3 separate regions of the Homo sapiens genome follow, and all the other regions are linked to region 1. The links are contacts of gene promoters, found by promoter capture Hi-C in blood cells and fetal thymus (Javierre and others, 2016). All regions are on one chromosome and are shown on one strand. The core of a region is centred on a gene start or on the middle of the fragment in contact, and the rest is flanking DNA. Distances in the headings are between cores, read along the strand shown. Region 1 holds the start of PRKAR1B-AS2 (PRKAR1B antisense RNA 2). Region 2 overlaps DNAAF5 (dynein axonemal assembly factor 5). Region 3 overlaps LOC105375118 (a long non-coding RNA gene).

Region 1 (4,950 bases), core at 1,283-3,782:
AGGCAGTGCAAAGCTCCGAGCCACAGGCTTGCCTGGAAGGCAGTGCAAAGCTTCGAGCCACGGAGACAGGGCCAGGATTGCTGGGAACACAGAGTCCTCCCAGAGGGAGCAAGGGCGGAGGTTGAGGCTGGCGGCGGAGGTTGAGGCTGGCCACGGAGCCACGGGAGGACCTGGGAGGAGGCCTGAGGCTGGATGGGCTGACGCTGGGGGCGGCGGCCTGTGTCCCACCCTGGCCCCACCTCCCGTCCATCCAGATTCCAAGTCTCAGGTTCCCACAGGGGTGTCCAGGAGCCACAGCTCTGGCTGGACCCGGAGGGGCCCACTGGGCTGAGGGCCAGGTCCAGAATGATGGGTGGTGGCTGCGTGGGGTATGGTCTCTGTGGGGAGACTGAACAGGGAGGGAGGAGACCCTTTGGGAACACCAGGATCAGAACGGGAAGTGGGGAGCGGGCAGAGGGGGGCTGCTGAATTGTCAATGGAGGAGGCTGGAGCCGGGCCAGGCTGGAAAGTGCTTTCTGCCTCTTTAGAACATAATCAGCCAGTGTGCACCCATGCACACCAACGCACATACTCACCCATGCACACGTGTGCACACATGCACATATACACACCCACAACCCATGCACACCCACAACCCATGCACACACACTGATCCGTGTGCACATGGACACAGGCACACCTGTGCACACACACGTACACACATGTACATACAGACATGCATGCACACCTGAGCACACACACGTACATACACACTCCAAGCAGACCCATGCACACACACACATGCACACACCGCACAGACATGCATGTATGCACACGTGCACACATGCTCACACAGACTTCTGTTCTGGCACACATGCACACACACAGTGCATACACATACCTGTGCACACAATAACACACCCATACACACACCTGTGCACGCACTCACACGTGCACACATGCATGCACACACACACCCAGCGTGCAGAGGTTGCAGAGGCTGAAGCAGCTTGGGGCCCCCTGGGGCTGGGACATTGTGGGTCTTGGCCCACCCAAGCCGGGGGGCTGTTGGACGCCTGCTGAGTGGACAGTGCACAGCCTGGGCTCTCAGCAGTGGCACCCCTTCCTTTCCTTTCCCTTCTGGCCTAAGGAATGGTGTCTGCAGAGGCAGCCTGTGGAGGGTTTTTAGGCTCATTGGAAAAGAAAACTGGGGTATCCCGTGGAGGGGGTCCTGGGGCGGACTTGCAGCCTGACCTGGCAGGTGCTCTCAGAGGACCCTCAGGGTGGGGGCCGAGGGCACGGGGCATCAGCTCCGGGTTGGGTCTAGGTGCCTGCCCACCTGCACCTGCCCTGGTGGCTGCCTGGAGGGCTGGGGGCATGTTTGATCCCAGGAAGCAGAAGCCGTGTCAGTTCCGGGCCCAGGCTCTCCTGGGATGAGAGGTGCTGGTGTGTGGAAGGGTTGGGGTTGCTGTGAAGTCACAGTGGAGATTTCATCAGCGCCCGTTAGGTTTCTGGTGTCCAGCACCCTGGTCAGTACCTGGAAGGACTCAATGTCTGTTCATCCAAAGATTGAGACTTGGCTGAGAAAGCAACAGCTGAAATGGCGGGCGAGGGTCAGGGCATCTCTGCTGGTGTCTGGGCATCTCAGCTGGGGTCAGGACATCCTGGCCGGGGGTCAGCATGGTGGAGGGAGTCATGGTTGGGGGGCATGGACCCCATGGCCTTGCAAAGAAGATCCAGGGAGGAAGAGAACAGCTGGAGGGAAGATGAAATGCTGCTGGCCGCAAAGCTATGATGGGCAGATTGGTTGTGATCTGTGTGTGACAGAGACCCTTTAAGAGCTCTTTCTGGAACCTGGTGTGACCAGGCAGATGGAGGGGCAGTAATGGAGGAAAGGGTGTGAGAGGCCCTGGAGGCCGGGGCTTGGCCCACCTGCAGGTGATGAGTGCAGGCCTGGTGGAGAGGGCTGGAAGGGACGCGTTCCAGGCTCTGCAGGGGGCAGAATCCTCAGTGCTGGTGACCCCTGGTTGGGAGGTGAGGCCGAGGGAGGTGTCTGCCGTCGTCTGGGAGGAGTCCTGTGGACAGAGATGCCTAATGGGGGCAGACGAGGAGTTGGGCTGGGCCTGTGGAGCTGGAGGCGACAGGGCCCTCACTGGGACGCTTGGGGTTGAAGCCACACAAACCACAGGCAGTGAGCACTCCCACCCACCCACCCTGAGAGGTGCCTGGGGCTGGAGCAGGAATGGCTGCCCCCACCTCCCCGCCTGGCAGGCAGCAGGAGCCTCTGTAGCCTGGGGCCTGTGCTCGCCCTGGTTCCCCGGAACCTGCAGAGACTCCCACACAGATGGCCGGGAGTAACTGGGCCACAGAAGGGCATTGAGGGCAAGGCCCGGGCAGCCACATGCCCCTTTCCTTCCACGCTTCTCACCTAACCGTGGTTGCTGGCGCAGCCACAGGCATCTCGTCACCCCCACCCCCCGGCCGCGCCGGGAGCACCCACCGGAGCTTCCATGGCAGCTGCGTAGGTCCCGGGACGGACAGTGCCTGGCTGCAGAGACAACCGAGGGGATAACTGGGTTTGCAGAAGGAAAGGCTCGTCTCACACGGGGCCAGGCCTGCCTCACTCTGGCATGCAGGCGGGGGCGGACGCAGCCCCGCACCTGTTCCCACCCCAAGCCCTGGCGCCGACGTCCGCGGGAACGGCTTGTTTCCCACGGAAGCTGCTGGGCCGTGCCTTTGCCGGGCCCCAGACCTCATGGATGATCCATTAAACGCTGGCACAGGAGCTGACCTTGGGCGGCTCGCCCGCTGAAGTGTGTTTTCGCTGTCGTCCCGAGGACAGTTTGCAGCCCAGGGTGTGTGACGTACATCAGTTCCGTCTCGGCCAGCCGGGCCTGAGGAGCGGGCAGGGGATGATTGCGGGGAAGTGGCTCAGCCTCCCGAAACAAACGGCAGAGGGACAGCTCGGTCACCTCCAAGACACCCGGAGCCTGCACGCAGCTCAGGAGCGCTCCGAGGAGTCACCGCCTGAGGGAGCAGGAAGGGATTTGGGTGGAAGGGAGCTTCAGGTGAAATTGCCTTCCATGTGGAAAAAACAGTTATTGCAACGGTTGCTTAAAAAAACATAAAAATGCATCCATGGGGCTTATTTATTCAGGAGAAATCACAGAGCACCTGGGAGTGCTTTAGAGGCAGGGGCTGCTTGCATCCTCTGTGGATGTGTGTGTGTGTGTGTGCACAGGCGTGTGTGCCTGTGTGTTTGTGCCTAGGTGTGTGCGCACAGGTTTGTGTGCCTGTGTGTGCATGTGTGTGGGGTGTGTGTGCATGTGTGTATGCACGTACCCGTGTGTGTGTGCACAGGTGTGTGTGTGTGTGTGTTTGTGTGCCTGTGTGTGGGGTGTGTGTGCATGTATGCACGTACCAGTGTGTGTGTGCGCAGGTGTTTGCGTGCACAAATATGCATCTGTGTGTATGTGTGTGTGTTCACACGTGTGTGTGTATGTATAGGATTCTGCTTCTGCCTAAGTCCAGAAGCACACAGGCAGGAAATGTGTGCACAGGAAACGTAAAGGCACTGGAGTGAGCCTGAATTTTCCAGGCTCTGAGGAGTCTCACTGGAGGGAGGAACGTGTCGTGGCCCCCGTGGCCCTGAGAAGGCATTTGGTGTCTGTCCACTCTTACGTTCACTCATGGCCGCCGCCCTCATGATGACTGTCCCGTTTGACGTGCTGGAACTCCTGGAGCTGGGGTAATCTGGCCTCACCGCCGCTCTGTAGCATTGGTTGGCGTTGTCCCATATAACAGATGAGGCAGCTGAGGCTGGAGCAGCTATGGGCCTTGCCTGAGACTGGCTGGTGCATTGCAGAGCTGAGGCTGGACCCAGACTCTTCGACTCTTGGTCTGCGGCCCGATTTTGGTGCTGATGACCTGGCCCAAGGTGCAGGACAGGAGCCTCCTCAGTCCCATTTGTTCCTGGCCAGGTCAGGGGGAAGCCTGGGTTAAGCTCGTGTGTTGAACACCTTTCCAGCTGTGCTTAATCTTTTAGTTACTTTTTAATTTATGGAAAGTGATAGCAGTTTCCATTTATGGTCGTGATACAAAGTTTCTTTTAAAATATATTTATTATTATTATTATTATTATTATTATTATTTGTATTAGTTCATTCTAACACTGCTATGAAGAAATGCCCGAGACTGGGTAATTTATAAAGAAAAGAGGTTTAATCGCTTGTGATTCTGCCTGGCTGGGGAGGTCTCAGGAAACTTACAATCATGGTGGAAGGTACCTCTTCACAGGGCAGCAGGAAAGAGAATGAAAGCTGAACAAAGCGGGGAAAGCCCCTTATAAAACCGTCACCCCATGCCATGATTCAGTTACCGCCCCCTGGGTCCCTCCCACAACACGTGGGGATTATGGGAGCTACAACTCAAGATGAGATTTGGGTGGGGACACCGCCAAACCTTGTCATTATTAGAGACAGGGTCCTGCTTTGCTAGCCAGGCTGGTCTCCAACTCCTGGGCTGCAGTGATCCTCCTGCCTCAGCCTCCTGAGTAGCTGGGACCACAGGTACCACCACGTCCAGCTAATTTACTTTTTGTAGAGATGGGGTCTTGCCATGTTGCGCAGGCTGACCTTGAACACCTGGGCTCAAGGAATCTTCCTTCTTTGGCCTCCCAAAGTATTGGGATTACAGGTGTGAGCCACCGTGCCCAGCCTAAAATATTTATTTAAGTAAAATGAATATATTTGTCTCTTGTAGAACTTCACATAAGGGACTTGGGGTGCATGTGCCTTTTCCTGGCCTCCCTGACTCCACAGCGAGCCTCGAGACTCCGGCTCACTGCCTGCACACGCGTGTGGCGTCCCGCATAGGAAGAGATGGGCTTCCTAGTGTGTCTCCTCCCGGGGGGTGTCCAGACGGTCTCTGGTCTGGGCTATGAGCACAGCGGGCCTGGGCTCCGGTGCTTCC
Region 2 (4,883 bases), core at 1,782-4,281, 210 kb before region 1:
CTTTTGTAGTGAAAATAAACAGGGGGCCGTGGCCCAGATGCCCAAATGCGCTCAGATGCCCAAACGCGTGCAGCCTTTCCGCCAGCTCCTGTTTTAAAAAGTGAGTGAATTCCCAACAATCGCATGGACTGAACTTGTTCCAGAGTCAGTGGGAACAGGATGTTTGTTACTAAAGAATAAAAACAGAAAAGCAAAGGTGAGAGAATGAGTGACAAAGGCCCCCGGACCTCAGAGTTCAGCAGGCGGCGGTTTTTCTGCCCAGCGCCGTGTGTACTGTGAATCTGAAAATTCATGTCTGTCTCCAGTTCTGGAAGATTCTGAGGCACCATCTCTCCTCCATTCTCTTCTCCTGGGATTCAGAAAAGCCCGGGAGCCTCTCGGCCCACTCGGCACCTCTCTCCATCCCGTGTCCTCTGCCCGCTCCAGGCCCCGCGTCCCTCCCCGTCCCGTGTCCTTCGCCCACTCCAGGCCTTGCACCCCTCTCTGTCTCGTGATCTTGAGGAATTCCACATTCCTGGCTTTCACGTCACTAACTTTGTTTTCAGCCACATTCAGTCTAGAGTTGACCCAGTACACAGAGTGTGAAGTTCCGATGACTCCATTCATTTCCGGGAATTAGCAAGAACCATCTTTTAAAAACTGCTAAACATTTCTGGCATAAATACACAAAATATAGATAATCACATTAAGTAGAGCTAATCAGGAACGCCTGAGTGGCCGCTTCCCGCCCACCCCATCCCCTTTCTCCCTCGCTGGGTAACTCCTTTCCTCAAAGTAGTGCCAGCACACCATTCCGTGTCACTCCGGACTTCCCAGCGATCGCTTCCGTTTCCATCTGTTCTTTATTCCTGCTTGTCTTCTTGTTTCTCAACTTGTTTTTTAGTGGATGTTGTTCTTTTAGCTTTTTGAGGATCTTAAACACGCCTCAATAAAGGTAACTTTGAGGTGGTTCTATTATCGGCACTTCCTTCCCGGGCTGGGTGCGAGGCTGCCCTTAGCGCCGGGTCTTCGGTGTTCTGAGGTAGCAGTCCCCAACCTTTTTGGCACCAGGGGCTGGTTTCATGGAAGACAATTTTCCATGGACCAGGGGGTGAGATGGTTTCAGGATGAGTCACGTGCGTTACGTTTATTGTACACGTTATTTCTATGACTACATTGTAACATATAATGAGATAATTCTACAACTCATCATCCTGTAGAATCAGTGGGGGCCTGAGCTTGTTTTCCTGCAACTAGACGGTCCCATGTGGGGACGATGGGAGACAGTGACGGATCATCAGGCATTAGTTTCATAAGGAGCGTCAGCTTGGATCCCTCGCGTGCACAGTTCACAATAGGATTTGTGCTCCTATGAGAATCTAATGCCGTTGCCGATCTGACAGGAGGCAGAGCTCAGGTGGTAATGCAAAAGATGGGGAGCAGCCGTAAACACAGATGAAGTTTCGCTTGCCCACCTCTCACCTCCTGCTGTGCAGTCTGGTTCCTAACAGGACCCGGACAGGTACTGGCCCATGGCCTGGGTGGCGGGGGCCCTGTCCTGAGGGGTTTGTGTGCAGGCTGCCCTGAGTGAGGGGCTCTCTGAATTCATGACTCTGTTCAGTGCTGCTGCTTTTCGGGGGCTTCAAGCCAACCACCCCATTCCCCTCCCCAGTGCTTGCTCTCACCTGGGGTTGGTCTGGGGTTTGGGCTCCAGGAGGCGGCGACACTGAGGCTGTGCCCCTGGTCCTGCTGCAGGGTGGCCCGGCCCCGTCTCCCCACAGGCAGCTCCAGCCGCCCCACCCTGAGGTCCCCCTTCCCGGCCGCGTGGAAGCTGAGCCTTGTCACCCCCACCCAGTGCTGGTTTGGAGACCTCTGCCTTGCTTCTTGCTGTGCCGTTTAATTTGTGGTATTTCATCTGTCATTGCTGTTTGTTCTCATAGTACCAACTTGAACAGAAGTCAAAGATGAGCATTTTCTATTTTCTTTTTTTTTTGAGATGGAGTCTGGCTCTGTCACCCAGGCTGGAGTGCAATGGTGCGATCTTGGCTCACTGCAACCTCCACCTCCTGAGTTGAAGCGATTCTCTTGCCTCAGCCTCCTGAGTAGCTGGAACTACAGGCGCGCACCACCATGTCCAGCTAATTTTTTTATTTTTAGTAGAGACAGGGTCACCATTTTGGCCAGGATGGTTTCTATCTCTTGACTTTGTGATCCACCTGCCTCAGCCTCCCAAAGTGCTGGGATTACAGGCGTGAGCCACCGTGCCCGGCCACGTTTTCTGCTTTTTTTCTATAAAACAAGCCACCATCAAACTTAAATACAGTCGTCCCTTGGTATCTGTGGGGTTTGGTTCCAGGAATCCTCCTCCTCTAGGATACCAAAATCCTCAAATGCTCAAGTCTCTGATAAAAAAAGGCATAGTATTTGCACATGACCCACACACATCTTCCGGCACACCTTAAACTGTCTCTAGATTACGTTTAACGCTAAATGTAACATCCACACGACGCTTCCTTCACGTGGGTTCAACGTTGTTTTAAGGCAGAACGCAACGTCCACACGACGCTTCCTTCACGAGGGTCCAATGTTGTTTTAAGGCCGAATGCAATGTGTACATGATGCTTTCTTCATGCGGGTTCAACGTTGTACTTGGTGCCCAACAAATTCAAGCTTTGCTTTTTGGAACTGTGGAATTCTGCCCCCCAATACATACATATTTATATATGCAAATGTAAGTACAAATTTGTATTTGTATGTATAAATGCACAAACATGTATATATGTAGCCATACACACACACACACACACACACACACACCCCTACTTTTAAAGACAAGGTTTTGGTCTGTTGCCCAGGCTGGGCTCAAGCGATCCTCCTGCCTCAGCTTCCTGAGTAGCTGGGACTACAGGTGTGTGCCACCAGCCCTGGCTAATTTTTAAATTTTTTGTTGAGATCGGGGTATGGCTATGTTGCCCAGGCTGGTCTCAAATTCCTGGGCTCAAGCAACCCTCCTGCCTAAAGTGCTGGAATTAAAGGTGTGAACCACCACACCCAGCCCGAGATAGTTTTGATCTGAGTTTGGGTGACTCCATGGATGCAAACGGAACCCAGGGACACGGAGGGCTGACTGCATATACACAGGCTGTGAACAACAGAAATGTCCTACCAGGATAAATCCTGATGAGTTTCTCTGGATCCGTCATGCCGCCCGAGGTTTTTAAGAACGTGTTGATAATACGGCATGAGATCAGTCGCGTCATCTTCGAATCCTCCTCCAGGGTGGTCAGGACCTGGGGCATCAGTGTTTCCTGCACGTCCCGTATCTGCAATCAGCAAACACATACGACGTGACTCACATCTGTCCTGGGGTGGGGTGGGGGTGCTCACCATCCGTGCACTCCTGCCTGGAAGGACTTAGGGGGCTTGAAAGCTTTACCTAAAAAGTAGGCTTGAATCTTCATTGTAAAATTTAGATTTTGAGCAATTTTTAACTTGCTTACTTGATTTTTAGAAAATACGCACACTGTTCACAACTCCTAGGTGAGGCACTAACCCTAAACCAGGGTAATGGCTCGCCTGGGCCCCAAGGACGTGGGGCTTTCGGCTGGAGCACCGACCGCACCACCCCGCGTGCACCAGGAGGTGGCGCTGATGCTGCACGGGCGCCCAGGGCAGCGCCTTCCCGCCGGGCGGCGACCAGGACGCGGGCGGGCATCAGTGTCTGTTTTCTGACACCTGGTACCAGCCGGAGGTGTTCATAGAAACGATGCGGAAAGCCCAGGCCCGTCCTCTGGCCTGGATCCTGGGATTCGACTCCTGGTCTTGCAGCCAGCATTGGGCCGGAAACCGAGAAACCGCACGCTCATGAGCGGCTGCAAAACCCGCAGCACGACCGGGCTGGCTGGGCCCGCGGCCTGGCTCCCGCTCTCCCGCCTGCTGTCTGAACCGCAGCCCGGCCGCCGGCTCCTGCCCTTCCGCCGCCAGTGTGGGGAGAGCCTCTTGGGGTACGGGCCCCAGGTGGAGGTGCAGCTGCTGCCTGCCCAAGTTCCTGCTGCGGGAGCTCTGCCGGGCGCCAGGAAGCCTGCGCAGTCCCCGGCCGGTGTCCACCGAGCACGCAGGGAGCCCCGTACCTGCTCTGCCGACAGGACCTCGCTGCTGGTGAGCGCCCAGAGGCAGGACACGGCAGCCGTGCGGATGGCCGCGGCTGTCCTCCCCGCATGCCACTGCAGATTGGGGGCCAGGATGTCCTTTGTCACCGTCTCGAGGTAGCTGGGAAACTGCCTGGAACCGGAACGGAGAGGGTGGATGAGGAGACCGGACAGGTGCTCGGAAGAAACGTTTCAGACTAGGGATGAATGGGGCTGAGGGGGGAGCCAAACAGGAAAACGAACTCGACCCCAAAACACGAGGCCCCTCCTCCTCTCAGGAGCTGCTTCTCAGTGCGAATTGGGAGGTTCCTCCAGGCCCAACCCTACCGGGGAGACAGGGGTGCCTGTGCCCCTGGCCTCTCCTGCGGCCCGCGTAGGTCCTGTTCTCCAGAGGCGAGCCAGAGGCCCTGGGCCGAGGGTGCACTTTCAGCCCCTCGCCGCTCCTAGCTTCAAAAGGAGGCCTGAGTGACGCCTGGGCTAGGGCAGGTGCGGTGGTGTCGGCAGCACCCAGTGAGCCCCTTTCCCATCTGCATCCCTCCCCCAGAAAAAGGCCAAGTCTCTCCAGCCACAGAACCCTCTGTCCAGCAAGGACAGTCGCTGCGGCTTCACAGAGGCGGGATGGGAGGGCCACAGGCGCGGTCCGGGGACCCAAGGGCCACAGCTCAGAGAGACGGGCAGTTCCCACCCTGTCGGCGACTTCGTCCTGATGGTGACCAGTCAGGTCAAAGTGCCACCAAGACAAACTCAAAGCAAAAT
Region 3 (4,318 bases), core at 837-3,336, 230 kb after region 1:
GCCTGCTGGACTTCAAGCTCAAGAAACCTCTTGGATTTAAATCTAGAGTTGAGAGGAGAGGTTGTCCTTCAGGGGTCCATATGAAAGCTTCAGGTGCTTCCGAGGGATCCTCTGGCATGACAGGTCTGAGCCCGTCTTTCCCTCTCCGGCACTGCAGGGCTCCCGCAGTTCTGCTTAGATTCCTAGCAGCCTCTGCTCAGCCCCTCTGCGCTCACCCTGTGCTGCTTGCAAACAGACACCCTGGACTGTTGGGATCCTTTCCTCTCCCCGGGATCTTGTCTCTCCAAGCCCTGGCTGTGTGAGCAGTCCTGCACTCTGATTCTCGTCTTCCTGCTGGCACGACAGTGTTGAAAGCTCCTCTGAGCTTCTCGGATTCTCAGCAGACCTCCCTGCTCAGCTTCTCAGCATCTCTGCTCATGCCAGTTATGAGTTTGCGGTTGCCCCAAAGGGTGCAGAAGTTCGGGTCACCTCAACGCGTTTCCCTCCCCCACAATGTCTTGGGCCTTCAGGTCCTGGCTGCCTTGGTAACTCTCTGACACATTGAGACACATGTGGTCATTTGTTTTCTCCAACCTGGTTGATGGAAGCCAAAAGTGGACTCCTTTTTATTTTTTTGTTTTTTGACAGGGTCTTTCTCTTTTGCCCAGGCTGGAGTGCAGTGATGCGGTCACAGCTCACTGCAGCCTCAACGTCCTGGGCTGAAGCCATCCTGCCGCCTCAGCCTCTTGAGTATCTGGGAGCACAGGTGTACACCACCATGCCCGGTTAATTTATTTTTGTAGAGACGGTGTCTCGTCATGTTGCCCAGCGTTCCGCCTAGGCCTCCCGAAGTGCTGGGATTGCAGGTGTGAGCCACTGTGCCCAGCCTCCTCGTTTTTCTTACAGTTGTGTTTCACTTTATGGATCTATTATGATTTATATAACAACCTCTTATCAACGGGCTTTTAGGCCATTGTAAATAATGCTGCAGTGAGTAATTTCACACATAGACGGCCTCACCTGTGCGCAATGGTATCTATAGGATAAGCAGAATTGCCGGGCCAAAGGGCAGATGCATTTACATTTTTATTGATGTTGCCAACTTCGTGGCCATAAACGTTGTGCTAACTTGTCCTTTCATCAGCTATGTACGAGAGCGCCTGCTTCCCCACAAGTCTGTCAACATTGAGGGTTGCCTGGCATTTTGCTTTTTGCCAGTCTGACCCGTCATAAAATGGAACCTCCATTTAGTTTCAATTTGTGTTTCCTTGTTACCAGTGTGGTTGGGTGTCTTTCTATGTGTTAAAATGCCAGTTGCCGGCCGGCGCTGTGGCTCACGCCTGTAATCCCAGCACTTTGGGAGGCCAAGACGGGTGGATCACGAGGTTGGGAGATTGAGACCATCCTGGCTAACACGGTGAAACTCCGTCTCTACTAAAAATACAAAATATTAGCCGGGCGTGGTGGCGGGAACATGTAGTCCCAGCTACTCGGGAGGCTGAGGCAGGAGAATGGTGTGAACCCGGGAGGTGGAGCTTGCAGTGAGCCGAGATTGGTCCACTGCCCCCCAGTCTGGGCGACAGAGCGAGACTCTGTCAAAAAAAAAAAAAAAGCCAGTTGCCCATTTAAGTTCTTTACTCATGTTTTGATGAGTTTGCTGGTCTTTATCTCATTGTTTTCAGGAGGGTTTTTTTAAATGTATTTGGGAAAGTAGCATCTTGTCTACCGTATGAGTTGCTAATACCTCTTCCTCAGTTGGTTGGCTATCTGTTAACTTTGGCTTGCAGTATTTTAATATTTTTAAATGTATGTCTTGCATATTTCTTTTCTTTCTTTCTTTTTTTTTAGATGGAGTCTCACTCTGTCTCCAAGGCTGGAGTGCAGTGGCACAACCTCGGCTCACTGCAACCTCCACCTCCCTCATTCAAGTGATTCTCCTGCCTCAGTCTCCCCAGTAGCTGGGATTACAGGCGCATGCCACCACGCCCGGATGATTTTTGTATTTTTAGTAGAGATGGGGTTTCACCATGTTGGCCAGGTTGGTCTTGAACTCCTGACCTCAGGTGATCCGCCTGCCTCGACCTCACAAAGTGCTGGGACTACAGGTGTGAGCCACCACGCCCGACCGATGTCCTGCATATTTCTTATTAGGCTTATTCCTAGAAGTTTGTTGTTTTTGCTACTGCTAAAATATGCTATTTAATGTCATTAACTTTGCTAACTGAGGCCAGAGCTACGGGAAACTAAACGAAGTTAACCAACCAACCGAGCAAATAGCAAGTGCTTACTGAGCCTCTATATCGTCCTCACAATATTGTCGGAATGAAGCTGCCATGTTGGGTGTTGCAGGGACAAGAGAGTAGAAGATTCAATCAATCCTCGCTTTTAAGTTGTTCAAAATTGATTGAAAAAGACATAGAGAGACACAAAGACACAGCCTGGGTGGGGACAGGTGGGCGGCCCCAGGTGAGGGGCAGGCACCGAGGTCATCACGGGCGCTGGCGTTCAGGCCTTCCGGGTGGCAGCAGGGTGGGTTGAAAGGGGACTGTGGCCGACAGGAACATGGGCAGAGGACTGGCCAAGCAATTTCTAAGAGAAAAAAGGAACACCCACGATGAACACAGGAAAAACATACCCTCCTCTCCAGTACTTAAAAAAAAATGACATTTTACTGGCCCAACGAAGTGGCAAAGATTTCCTTCAAGGGTAAAACCTTGGGTAGGAGAGTCTTCAACAGAAACAGAGGCGGAGGGGAATGGCCACCATCCCTCTACGCACCTGTCCGGGCAGCGGGGCAGTGGGCCATGATCCTGAGCGTGTCCTGCGTACCAGGCACCCCGGGCAAGCAACAGAGAACCAGGCAGGTGTGGGAAACCATGTTCTGGCTGGGGAAGCAGACAATACCCAAGTCAGCAAGTGAATATGGGAGCGTGAATTGTGACCAGCATCACCCCACAAGAGGGAATGAACGGGACATTGAGGGAGGGAGTTGTGGGGGACCATGGGGCCGGCGTTTCCCTCACAGAGGGTGATATGAAGGGGAGGTGGCATCTGAGCAGAGAGGTGAAGAATGCAAAGGGGCCGGCCGCGTGGAGACAGCGGGGAGGAGAGGTCCAGGCAGAGAGATTAGAATGAGCCAAGGCTCTGCCTGGGAGCCGTGGCGGGCAGGCGGGCATCTCTCTCTCTCCCCATGGTCTCAGGGCTTCTCCACGTGCGATAGTTTCACAGCACGGTGGCCTCGGAGCATCCAGACGGCTAACTGGACAGCTCGGGGTTGCACGTGCCTGTTCCCAGAGACCAGGCTGACACCGACGCCTCCCGTGACTTCAGACCCCACAAGTCACGCAGATGGTTTCTGCCGTTGCCACAAGCCCACCCTGGAGGCCAGGGCAGGGGCCTGGACCCCACCTTCCTATCAGTCTCTCATAAGAAGAGCCCCTGGCTGGGCTGGGAGATGTCGCTGTGGCCACCATGGGGCAGCCAGTGGGCAGAGTGAAGAGCCAGGCATAGAGGCCGGCAGAGACCCGACAGTGCAGGTGCCTGGCGGGCCGGGATGGGCCAGGTGGACGGGAAGGACAGTGGCTATGAGATTCAAAGCGCCTGCTGAAAGGACTCATCCTGGCTGCCTGTGCGCCAGAGCTGCATGCAAAGGGCAAGGTGGGTGCGGGGAGACTGGGCAGGACCCTGTCTCACAGCTCCTGCTCGGCCCCCTGGCTGAGGTGAGGAGGGCCACACCTGAGGTCCTCCCCTAACAGGGACCACATGTTTCCTCATGCTCTTGGCCAAAATGAGATGACCATCTTGGTGGTGTGTGCGCTGCAAAGTGAGCCTGCCAGGCCAATGGGAATAGATTCAGCAGAATAACACCCAAACGTAATTCAAGCAAAGACAAACATCTCATGTCAGGCTCACGGCATTCAGAGAAACATGGGAGAATTCCTGCCTCCGTGCATGGGCCAATCAGATAGGGCCACTCCTGAGTTGCTCTGTGTTGGGAAATGACCTAATAGCCTTACAGCTTGTTACTGATTAATTTTGTTTGATGTGGGAGGCTGCATGGATTTTTAATAAGGGCTACTTGTAATTGCAAGCCGACTGAAGCTTCCAGAATCATGAAGTGCATTTCAGGGAATTTTGCAAAACACAGGACACAAGGCCTGTGTGCCCAGCACTCCCAGCTGGTAATTACATTCGAGCTGCTGTGTAGAGAGAACCTAGGGGCTCTCGTTAACTAATGACAGGAATTAGGGAGCTATTAGTGCCTGCTGGTGGGACCCGGCTCTTCCCTCATAAATCTCCAGCCCGTTGATATCCTGGCCTCCCAGTGAGTTGGGGTTTT

Evidence for each region. The method cuts DNA at HindIII sites, captures the fragments that hold promoters and counts their contacts. A CHiCAGO score of 5 or more calls a contact.
Region 2: a fragment that was not itself captured here is called in contact with the fragment with the promoter of PRKAR1B-AS2 in region 1 in 1 of 17 cell types (activated CD4 T cells); the score reaches 5.1 in activated CD4 T cells.
Region 3: a contact is called between a fragment that was not itself captured here and the fragment with the promoter of PRKAR1B-AS2 in region 1, in 1 of 17 cell types (activated CD4 T cells). The highest score is 5.3, in activated CD4 T cells.

What each region holds. Positions count from the first base shown.
Region 1 is chr7:559,540-564,489 of GRCh38, reverse strand. PRKAR1B-AS2 (PRKAR1B antisense RNA 2) reads right to left here and starts at 2,532. Exons shown (of 2, transcript NR_132384.1): 1 at 2,480-2,532. All of the region lies in intron 9 of PRKAR1B (protein kinase cAMP-dependent type I regulatory subunit beta), which reads left to right. The HindIII fragment of the contact is 11,213 bases long and covers 53-4,950 here.
Region 2 is chr7:773,425-778,307 of GRCh38, reverse strand. It overlaps DNAAF5 (dynein axonemal assembly factor 5), which reads right to left. Exons shown (of 13, transcript NM_017802.4): 10 at 4,110-4,260; 11 at 3,146-3,302. Among named protein-coding and RNA genes, the nearest start is that of PRKAR1B, 49 kb to the right of the region's middle. The HindIII fragment of the contact is 760 bases long and covers 2,652-3,411 here.
Region 3 is chr7:326,674-330,991 of GRCh38, reverse strand. It overlaps LOC105375118 (a long non-coding RNA gene), which reads left to right. Exons shown (of 3, transcript XR_926965.4): 3 at 1-1,365. Among named protein-coding and RNA genes, the nearest start is that of FOXL3-OT1, 38 kb to the right of the region's middle. The HindIII fragment of the contact is 3,993 bases long and covers 90-4,082 here.